Linked DNA regions of Homo sapiens: region 1 is linked to region 2. The links are contacts of gene promoters, found by promoter capture Hi-C in human tissues and cell types (Jung and others, 2019). All regions are on one chromosome and are shown on one strand. Each heading gives the region's core, a stretch centred on a gene start or on the middle of the fragment in contact. The rest is flanking DNA. Distances are from core to core; before and after follow the strand shown.

Region 1 (5,708 bases), core at 1,397-3,896, 33 kb after region 2:
CAGCACCTGATTACAATGGTAACTTACTAGAAATGGACTAGCGAGCAAGGAGGCTGTTTCCATGCTCAGTGAGGCTTCCAGATAGATTTCCAACTATCAAGCAACATCAAGAATAATAGAGGGAAGTTTCCATCTGGAGGAGGAGCTTGTGATCTTGCTAAATGCAGAGCAGCAGGTTGGATGGTCTGAGGGTCTGGAGAGAAGCAAAGGGCTTCAATCTCTCTGCACCCCCTCAGAGAACAAGATGGGGTGTCAGTTTTGGAGTCTTTTTTGATGGATAGAAAGGGTTTCTAGCAAACCATACAGTTGGCCAAGGATAAGGAAGATGCATAAAAATAAATCTAGGAGACTGGAAGGTGTTGTACCTCATTAAAAAGTAAATATATATATTTAGGAATGTAAAGAGTTTTAAATACAAGATAGCAACCAGTAGTTCTGTTTCCACTGAGGACATAACTCTGTGACTGTAGAGTGAGATTTCACGAGAGAAACCTTCTGGTGGGACTGAAGGCTCCACAAAGGCACAGGTACTAAGAAAGTATAAACATCATCTTTTGGAAGACTTAAGAGGATATTTCTGAAAATATCTGTTTCAGTCTTGCAAAATACCACGCGTTGGCTTCTATACCCAAGGAAACAAGGCCACACCCATAGAATACATCCGTGAAATGTGGCCTTAATTTTCTGTGACTGTTTCCGTTGATGTTCATGGGGAATGGATTTGTGGGGGAATTCTGTGGATGGGAGATGCAGGCAGATTCATTTACTCAACACATTTATTGATCTGTCTACAGAGTGTAATGCTAAGTAAACCAGACCCAGCTGTCTCAGTAAGTCTAGTAGGAAAGGCAAGACGTTGATCAGCCATCTTCAAAAATAAATAAAATGTTGACAGTGAGGGCATAACATCAGTGGGTCTGGAGCGTTCACCAGGGTCTGGAGGGTCAAGGGTTTTCTCACTGTGAGGGATGGGTGAGAGAAGAATATTCCAGCAAAGATAGAAGTGGATGAAAGGGCCCTGAGATGAGAAAGAAAAGCCGGAATGTCTGGAGAATAGAGAGGAGGAGAGACGCATTGATGAGGCTGAAGGGATCAAGGCGGTTAGGTGGGGCTTTGTAGGATTGTCAGGATTTTGCTCTATCTCCTAAAGGCAATGGCAATCCACAAAAGGGATTCCAGGAATTCTGGCTGCTATGAGGGGGTGGATTCCGAGAAGATGTGAGTATTATTATCAGTGGAAGGGATGGGTGTGAGTGGATTCACAGAGTGTTTTGGAGTTAGTTGTATATGGATTTTCTGAATCCAATAACAGAGGAAGTTGTAGCTGACTCATGAGAAATAATTAGCATTGAAAAACCTGACAGGGACAAATATTACAGCTTAATTTAACTGGGAAATTTATAGTATTTGAAAGTTATCACAATCTTTGTTAATGTAACAGCAGCGCTTACCAAAAGCGACTTCTGGATTGTTAGATGTAGGGTCCCGATGATCTGAGTCTTGCCATTACAAAGTTGCACAGGGAAATAAAAGCTGTTGTCACAAAAATATTAAACTGATTATGAATACAGTAGTCCTCATCAAGCACCTCCCTGCCTCCTGCTAGTGTCAACCCTTTCTGACAGCAGGAATATCCTTGTAGGCCGGCCTCTTTGTGACTGTCCAATGCAAGGAGAAATTGCAGTTATTACAAGGGACACATGTTTACAAAAAGTCTTTAAAAGCAGTGAGGGAACAGGGGAACACTGCCTGAATCCTGCCCACAACCTTTGGCCAGTGGGGATCTGGCAGAGAGACCTGTTAACTTTTGAAGAAATTAACATCTGCAAGGATAATCACATAATGAGCCTTTGAAAGAGTATGATTCAAATATCTAATGATTAAGAGAAGCCTTTGGGGAGTGGTGCTCTCGAATAATTTTACAAAAGTTAATTGTATGATTTGTGTTGTAGAAGTCAAATATGAAAAAATTTTGTAGAAAAAATTCTTCCCCTCCTCCTCCCAAAAAACCCATCAATGGACTCATTCTTTGTTTATTTCAAGAATGGTCACATATTATATTCTAATCACATATTGTAATCTAATTTTTATTAAAGATAGTCATATTTCCAAAATAAAGTTTTTCCCCAGTTTTCCTTCTTGTGGTAAAGTACATATAACACAAAATTTACCATCCTAACCATTTTTAAGTGTACAGTTGAGTGATATTAAGTGCATTCATACTGTGGTGCAATTATCACCACTGTGCATCTTCAGAACTCGTTTTCATCTTGCAAAACTGAAACTCTGTCCATTGAATAATAACTCTCTGTTCCCTGTCTCCCTAGCCCCTGACAACCACCATTCTACATCCTGTCTCTATGAGTTTGGCCACTCTAGGTACCTCATGAAAGCGGAATCATATGATAGTTGTCTTTTTGTGACTGGCTTATTTCCCTTAGCATAATATTCATTGTATGCATAGACTACATTTTTCTTATCTATTCATCTATGGACGGACCCTTGGGGGGTTGCTTCCATGCTTTAGCTGTTGTGAATAATGCTATGAGCAGGCATGTGCAAACATCTCTTCCAGACCCCACTTTCAATTCCTTTGGGTATATACTCAAAGGTGGAATTGCTGGATCATGCTGTAATTGTTTTTTGAGGAATCGTCATACTGTTTTTCCTAGAGGCTGTGCCATTATACATTTCTCTCACATATTACACATGGGTTCCAGTTTCTCTACATTCCCGCCAAAACTTGTTATTTTTTTTTTTAATTAGCCACACTAATGTGTATGAGGGGGTATCTCTTTGTAGCATTGAATTGCATTTCTCAATGATTGGTAAAAATTTGTATTTCTTCTGTTTGAAATGTCTGTTCAAAGCCTTTGCCCATTTTTGAATTGGATTGTCTGTGTTTTTGCTGTTGTTGGATTTTAGGAGTTCTCCATAAAATCCCTTATCAGATATTTGATTTGCAAATATTTTATCCAGTTCTGCAGGTTGCCTTTTCCCTCCATTGATAGTGTTCTTTGATGCACAGTTTTAATTTTCATGAAGTCTAATTTGTCTTCTTTGCCTGTCAAAATAGAATTTTAATTAAATCAGTTTTTCTTACCACTAGTTAGCGTAAATTTTTTTGTCTCCATTTAGCAGTTAGGATTTAACAATAAGGACCTCCTGGATACAGATAACTTGATGTATGCATTTACAAGGAATGGAGAAATACATCCACAGTATAATGAAATATTTAGATGACACAAAAGACAATGTCTAACATTTATATCATAAATAATCTCTCAAGTTTTGCCATTTGGGGTGGGGAGGATGAGGGAAGATGAAAGGACCTATAAGAAAAAAAGATAGATCGGATTGAATGTCATTTTATACATCTGATAGGGGTTTCAGAAAGCAAGTCTTTGTCATTTTCTTTTTTGCCTATATGTGATTTGCAATGGGGTCAGACTCCTCAATAGTTATAAATGTGACCTTGAATATAAATCCCTATTATTTGTTTTTCAGGTTGCAAGTGGCTATCTTGTGGTGGGGTTTGTCTATGTGATGGAATTCATTGGCATGAAGTCTCGGACATGGGCGTCTGTCCATTTGCATTCCTTTTTTGCAGTTGGAACCCTGCTGGTGGCTTTGACAGGATACTTGGTCAGGACCTGGTGGCTTTACCAGATGATCCTCTCCACAGTGACTGTCCCCTTTATCCTGTGCTGTTGGGTGCTCCCAGAGACACCTTTTTGGCTTCTCTCAGAGGGACGATATGAAGAAGCACAAAAAATAGTTGACATCATGGCCAAGTGGAACAGGGCAAGCTCCTGTAAACTGTCAGAACTTTTATCACTGGACCTACAAGGTCCTGTTAGTAATAGCCCCACTGAAGTTCAGAAGCACAACCTATCATATCTGTTTTATAACTGGAGCATTACGAAAAGGACACTTACCGTTTGGCTAATCTGGTTCACTGGAAGTTTGGGATTCTACTCGTTTTCCTTGAATTCTGTTAACTTAGGAGGCAATGAATACTTAAACCTCTTCCTCCTGGGTAAGTAGTTACAGTATATTTAAATTTGGCAGTGAAGTGAGATTTCTACCATTTGTGTGTGTGTGTCTGTTTCTGTGTGAATTTGAGAAAAAGAATGTTTTTAATAGGCCCTTTAAAACCAGGAACAATACTGCCAACCATATTATTATGATATCTCTTAGTGTTATGTTGTAACACATGTACATATGAGGGGACTTCAACCAGTTCATGGAAAAATGGCATTAAAAGACAAAAATTTAAAACATAAACTTTCTCAACATGATTGCCATCAAGGTCAAGACACTTTTGTACGACATCAGCCATTTATTCCATCCTTAAAAAACTGAGGGTCCTGAGAATGTACCCATGTCAATGCAGTCTTATTTACACTATTAACTGAAGAAAAATGGGTGCCGCGTACAGACTTTTTAAGATTAGGAAACAGAAAGAAGTCAGAATGAGCCACCATGAGAACTGTTAAGGTGGCTGCCTAGTGATTTCCCATCAAAACTCTTGCAAAATTGCCCTTGTTTGATGAGAGGAATGAGCATGCCCATTGTCATGGAGGAGAAGGACTCTCTGGTGATGTTTCCCAGGCATTTTTCTACAAAAGCTTTGGTTAACTCTCTCAAAACACTCTCCTCATAAGCAGATATTTTCATTCTTTGGCCCTCCAGAAAGCTAACAAGCAAAATGCCTTGAGCATCCCCAACAAACGTTGCCATGACCTTTGCTTTCGACTGGTCCACTTTTGCTTTGACAGGACCATGGCCCCCCTTGGTAACCATTGCTTTGGTTGGGCTTTGTCTTCAGGATCAGACTCGTAAAACCGTGTTTCATCTCCTGTTACAATTCTCCAAAGAAATCCTTCAGGATCTTGATCCCACTTGTTTAAAATTTCCATGGGAAGTTCTGCCCTTCTCTGCAGCTGATCTGGGCACAACTGTTTTGGCACCCATTGAGTGGAAAGTTTGCTCAACTTTAATTTTTCAGTCAGAATTCTGTAAGCCAGACTAATTGAGATATCTATGGTATTGGCTATTGCTTCTGCTGTTAATCTCAGTCTTTGTCAATTAGGGCATAAACAAGATGTATTTTTTTCCTCAATGTGGATGCTCTGCCACTGTGGTCTTCATCTTCAATATCGTCTTGTCCTTTCTTAAAATAAGTTATCCATTTGTAAACTGCTGATTTATTTGGGGCTTTGTGCCCGTAAACTTTTCATAAAGCATCAATGATTTCACCATTCTTCCACCCAAGCTTCACCATAAATTTGATGTTTGTTCTTGCTTCAATTTCAGCAGAATTCATGTTGCTCTAGTGGGAGCTCTTTTCAAACTGATATCTTATTCTTCTTAGTGCCTCAAACTAGCTCCTCTTCAGACACGTTCTAAGAAGTTAGTACAAATTTCTTTTAGTGCAGAAAAAATCTGAAAACACATGCATAGTTTTTTCATAATATGCACTTTCCATTAACTTTTTTTTTTGGAAAAGGAGTCTTGCTCTGTTGCCCAGGTTGGAGTGCAGTGGTGTGATCTCAGCTCACTGCAATATCCGCCTCCTGGGTTCAAGCGATTCTCCTGTTTCAGCCTCCTGAATAAATGATATTACGGGCACATGCCACCATGCCCAGCTAATTTTTATATTTTAGTAGAGACAGGGTTTCACCATGTTGGCCAGGCTGGTCTCG
Region 2 (5,427 bases), core at 1,406-3,905:
GGAAGTTCCAGACTCTTTCAAACAACCAGATATTGTGTGAACTCATAACTGAGAATTCACTCATTACTGGGGAGGATGGCACCAAGACATTCATGAAGGATCCATGATCCAAACCCCTCCCACCAGGCCCCACCTCCAACATTAGGGACTACATTTCAACACGAGATTTGGAGAGGACAAACATCCAAACTATATCAGAAGGTTTTTAATTGCATATTCAATTTCTTTAATAGATGTAGGCCTATTTTGGTTATCTATTTCTTCTTGAGTGTTGTTAGATTGTATTTTTCAGTAATTTGTCCATTTTATCCATATTGTGACATTTCTATCTGGTGTAATAAGAATAGTGTTCATATCAAAGTTCAATTTCTCCATATCTTTTCCAGGTAACTCTCCCTTTGGTGCTTTGAAGCAATATGGCGTCTTGACTGGCTGCCATGGCCCCCACCTTTCCTCCTAGGCTCAGCCCTTGACATAACTACTCCTCACTACCCTCTCATCTTCCCCCCACCTTGTATCCCTCTAGCATTCCTCACCTGAAGAACTTAGGCTTTCTTAAGTCTCTTTAGTTAGCAGGAAACTATCTAATTTAAAAACCCTCTCCAAGTTGTTTATTACTTAAGGGATTAGTCCTTCCAAGAGTATTTATGTTTCAGAAGAGAATGTCTAGATAGGATTGTGCATAACAAAAATAAGTCAATTTTTAATGGTGTTATTGTAGGCTCTGTGACAAGTAGGGGAGGGAAGCACTTTGGGAAATGGACTCTCCTCTCTTTCAAATATTATTCAAGTACAAGTTTGCGCCTGTTACTCTTCTGCTTTAAGACTGTCTACAGGGAGTTCTCCTTGTCCTTTGGTCAAAGTAAAATGTTCAACACAGCCTTGCAAGATCCTGCCGCTTCTCGGAGCCATCAGACCCACTCTTGATGCTCTGCTCTGGTAGAGCTCTGCCCTGGCCCTCAAACTGTTGGACTTCTCTGAGAAAGCGATAGGTGTGCTCAGATTTTAAGGATGAGGTGGAGAAGTTCAGAGAGAGGGCATTTGCTATGGAACTGAGGCTACCAAAGTGACGAAGAGAATGCATCCCTGTTCTCTAGGAACTCAAGGTTTAGTGGCCTTATAGAGTGGAATAGCACGCCAACAGTGGGGCCAGTGACTGCCAGGCTGACTAGAGAAGGCAACTCTCACTGTGGATATAGTCGGAAACTGGCTTTTCTGCTTCAGCGCTGTGGACCAGCAATTGACCTTTCTTCCCTAAAGTTCATTCACTTGATACCTTCCAGAAGGAAGGTCACCCCCTGCCTGGGTTGGCTATGGGCCAAACCCCTGCCCACTCCAAAGTGTGGCTTGGAATGCCATGGTCTGCTTATTAAAAATCAGATTTCGGGAGGCCAAGGCGGTCGGATCACGACGTCAGGAAATCGAAATCATCCTGGCTAACACGGTGAAACCCCGTCTCTACTAAAAATACAAAATATTAGCCGGACGTGGTGGCGGGCACCTCCCCGCTACTTGGGAGGCTGAGGCAGGAGAATGGTTTGAACCCGGGAGGTGGAGCTTGCAGTGAGCCGAGATTGCACCACTGCACTCCAGCCTGGGCGACAGAGCGAGACTCCGTCTCAAAAAAAAAAAAAAAAAAAAAAAAAAAAAAAAAAAAAAAAATCAGATTCCTGTTCCCCAGGCATCCTGAATCATCAGGGATGGAGTCTCAAAATAAATGTACATTTATTTATTTTTTATTTTTGTATAGACGAGGTGTCGCTATACGTTGCCCAGGCTGGTCTCAAACTCCTTGGCTCCAGCAATCCTCCTGCCTCGGCCTCCCAAAGCACTGGGATTATAGGCCTGAGCCACCACGCCGGCCTAATTGTACTTTTATTTTTTTGAGACGGAGTTTCACTCTTGTTCCTCAGGCTGGAGTGCAATGGCACGATCTTGGCTCACCGCAACCTCCGTCTCCAGGGTTCAAGCGATTCTTCTGCCTCAGCCTCCCGAGTAGCTGGGATTACAGGCATGTGCCACCACGCCCGGCTAATTTTGTATTTTTAGTGGAGACGGGGTTTCTCCATGTTGGTCAGGCTAGTCTTGAACTCCCGACCTCAGGTGATCCGCCCGCCTCGGCCTCCCAAAGTGCTGGGATTACAGGCGTGAGCAAGTGCGCCCGGCCTTAAATGTACCTTTTAAACCAAGTTCTGCAGTAGATTCTTAGGCATTAAAGTTTGAGAGCCATGTTTCTGAGGGGCGTCATGCTGAAGGCTATATATTCTTGCGGCCCCCGGACCGAGCCTAGCCCTTGCATTCCCACCCTGGGCTCTCTCTCAGCGACAACTTTTCCCAGGCGTCGGGGCTTCCCTCGAGCGTGGCGACCCCGCAGACATGGTGCCAAGAGCCAGGGTGGGCGGCGGGGCGGGTGGGAGAGCGGCGGCGCTGGGGGCGAGGGCACCATGCGACCGCGGGCGCCGGGACCACAGCGCGCCGGGAAGGAGGCCGAGGCGGCAGGAAAAAAGCCGAAGATACTTGGGGGGACCGAGGGGCCAAGCGACGGAGGGAGGAACAGAATACAGCCTCGCGCTGGTCCCGAGCACTGGGACGCGCGGGGAGAGCAGGAGGCCGGGCGGGGAGGTTCGGGGCGGGGCGCGCTACCCGCAGTCCCCGGAGCTCGGCTAACTCGGCGCCCAGTGCACGGCCGCACCATGGGGTCCCGCCACTTCGAGGGGATTTATGACCACGTGGGGCACTTCGGCAGGTATGGGGGAGGGGCCCCGCGGCGCCACGCGGGAGGCGGCGCCGAGGGGTCTGTTTCTTTCCGTTGCGGCGGGGTTCTCGCGCGGCGCTCGCGATCCGAAAACATCTCCACTTCCTCCTCACCCCGCGCAGTCGGGACACGGGCGTCCAGACGCCGGCCCCTAGCTGGGCTTCTCCTCTAGGCCTCTGGCAGCGGGACCTGGCATGGTGAGCAGAGGCGCTGGGCTCGCTCGGAGTGCGCCTGTTGCCGGGCAGGAGGGACCTGGTGCGTGCTCTCCGCGGCAGCAGATGCTGGAGGCATCTGGCTGGAGATCTGGCTCGAGGGGCCAGATCTCACTCGTAGGGGGTGCCTGTGCCTGGCCGCCCGTTTCTCTAATCCGCCGCCACTTCCCTAGACGGCTGCTGCCCAGTTCTGCCCTGCGCCTCCGTAGGGCCTCCCTCTGTGCCTGGCAGGTGTTCCCCAGGGACAACCGTTAGTCAGAGTTGGTTGCCGTTTATTAAAACCTAATACGTGCCAGGTACACTGTACCTGGCGCTTACACATAGTTCTTCATTTGATGTTCACCGGGACCCTGCAAAGGAGGTGTTCAAATCCTTATTTTAGTGATTGGGAAACAAGCTGGCGGGGTCAAGGACTCATAGCCAACGCATGGTGGAACCACGTTTAACCTCCGTACACCCTCTTTTCATTTGTCAAATTGATTTAAAAAATTTAAATTATTCATTCGTTCGTTCACTCATGGACAGAGCTCCTCTATCTGACTCAGAGTGTTTTGAGAGGGGAGGTAGCCGGGTGAGGGGCCATGCAGCGTTATGGCCGGAGATTTGGAGCTGCGTCTCGATCCTGGCCTGCTACTTACCTCTGATATGATTCTGGAGATACTTTGTGTGTCAGTTTCCTATCCAGAAAACGGGAATCAGGCTTAGCAAAGAGATGATGTGGTGCTGTTCTTCAAGGTGGAAGGTTGCATGCGTTTTGGTTTTGATTCCCAGTGTCTGCAAAAAGGAGCTGTTAGGACAGAGGAAACGGGCAGGAAGCCCCAGCTGTTCCCTTCTTCCTCTGCTTGCATCATTGAACGCTGCCTTGTGCCTGGCTCGGTCATAAGCCGTTGGTACATGTTACTTCCTTTAATCTTCACTACAGCCTTATAAGGTTGGTAGTATCACCCTCTTTTCACAGATGAGAAAACCAAGGTTTCTGCCTAAGCACAAATCTAATACTAGCAGGGCAGAATTGGATGCCATTGGATGCCCATCACCTCCACAGCCCACACTCTCAACCATGATGCACTCCTGAGCACGGTTAGGTGACGGCTCCTCAGCTGGGCCAAGCTCTTTATGTATGATCTCATTTCATCCTTCTGGAAGCAGAATAGCACAGAGGTTAAAAGATCAGTTTTAAGGCTGGATGTCTAAGTTCCCACTCTGGCGCTACCACACATTAACTATACGGTCTTGAGCATTTTATTTACCACTTTCTTATCTGTAAAATGGGGCTAATAATAGTACAAATGTTTTCAAATAGGAGTAGTGAAAATGTGTATATGAGGACTCTGCATGCAGTTTCTCATCCTTACAGTAACTCAATGAGGTAGGTGGTACTTACATCTTAGTTCCCCTGTGTTTTTTAGGGATTAGCTGAGGTAATTATATTAGTTGGTGTTTGACTAAAGTGCCCAATCAAACAGATTCCTCAAATGGAAGTTTATGCCTCTCCAGTAACTGCCCACAGCAGGATCTGTGCCACGAGACCATTCAAGGACCCTGGCAGGTGGGACAGCTCTGTCATCCACTGCATGGGGCTCCCTGTCTGTGCCTGGAGCAGCTGCGCACCCATGGTGACAGCTCACTACGGTGAAGAGGGGGCAAATGGGTTTGAGGAGACAGCTCTTAGCTGGCCACCATAATGTATGCAAAAGTCTTATTATTCAGTAAGTTCTCAATAAGTCATGGCTATTATCATTACCTGAGTTCCCATATTGGTGGTCAGGGTTGACTCGTGAAAGCAGCTTACAGGAGGGAAAAGGGTAACAAACCACTGCTTATATAGCAGAAGATGAAGACTGTGTGACTGCAACACAGTACCACATTTTTCTCAGGTATTTGTTCTAATTGGTATCTATTCTTTATAAACAGAAAGGAAAGTTATTGTGATGATTATTTAGTCCTCTCTTTAAGGGATCCTAGTGAAAGTGTTAAGTAGAGCAGTGGTCCCCAACCTTTTTAGCACCAGGGACTGGTTTTGTGGAAGACATTTTTTCCACAGACCTGGTCCCTAACCTTTTTAGCACCAGGGACTGGTTTCGTGGAAGATATTTTTTCCACAGACCTGTGGTGGGGTCGGGAGGATGGTTTCAGGATGGAACTGTTTCACCTCAGATCATCAGGCATTAGATTCTCATAAGGAGCACTCAGCCTAGATCCCTCGCATGTGCAGTTCACAATGGGGTTCACGTTCCTATGAGAATCTAATGCCGCCGCTGATCTGACAGGAGGTGGAGCTTAGGAAGTAATGCTCGCTGGCCGCTGCTCACCTCCTGCTGTGTGGTCCAGTTTCTAACAGGCCATGGACCAGTCTGGTCTATGGCCTGGGGCTTTGGGACCCCTACAGTAGAGAACCCTGATTACCTCTCATTTCTCATTGGTCATTTCTAGAATAAGGAAGCACTATTCTAGTCACCT

The links. The method cuts DNA at HindIII sites, captures the fragments that hold promoters and counts their contacts. A contact is called where the count stands out against the background at its distance.
Region 1: a contact is called between a fragment that was not itself captured here and the fragment with the promoter of SLC22A16 in region 2, in 3 of the 25 tissues and cell types used here (IMR-90 fibroblasts, dorsolateral prefrontal cortex and spleen).

What each region holds. Positions count from the first base shown.
Region 1 is chr6:110,440,575-110,446,282 of GRCh38, reverse strand. SLC22A16 (solute carrier family 22 member 16) reads left to right here. Exons shown (of 8, transcript NM_033125.4): 4 at 3,508-4,039. Among named protein-coding and RNA genes, the nearest start is that of DDO, 28 kb to the right of the region's middle. The HindIII fragment of the contact is 6,907 bases long and covers 1-5,708 here.
Region 2 is chr6:110,473,841-110,479,267 of GRCh38, reverse strand. SLC22A16 (solute carrier family 22 member 16) reads left to right here and starts at 2,655. Exons shown (of 8, transcript NM_033125.4): 1 at 2,655-2,746. The coding sequence starts at 2,694. LOC105377938 (a long non-coding RNA gene) reads right to left here and starts at 3,751. Exons shown (of 2, transcript XR_942860.3): 1 at 3,606-3,751. The HindIII fragment of the contact is 19,647 bases long and covers 1-5,427 here.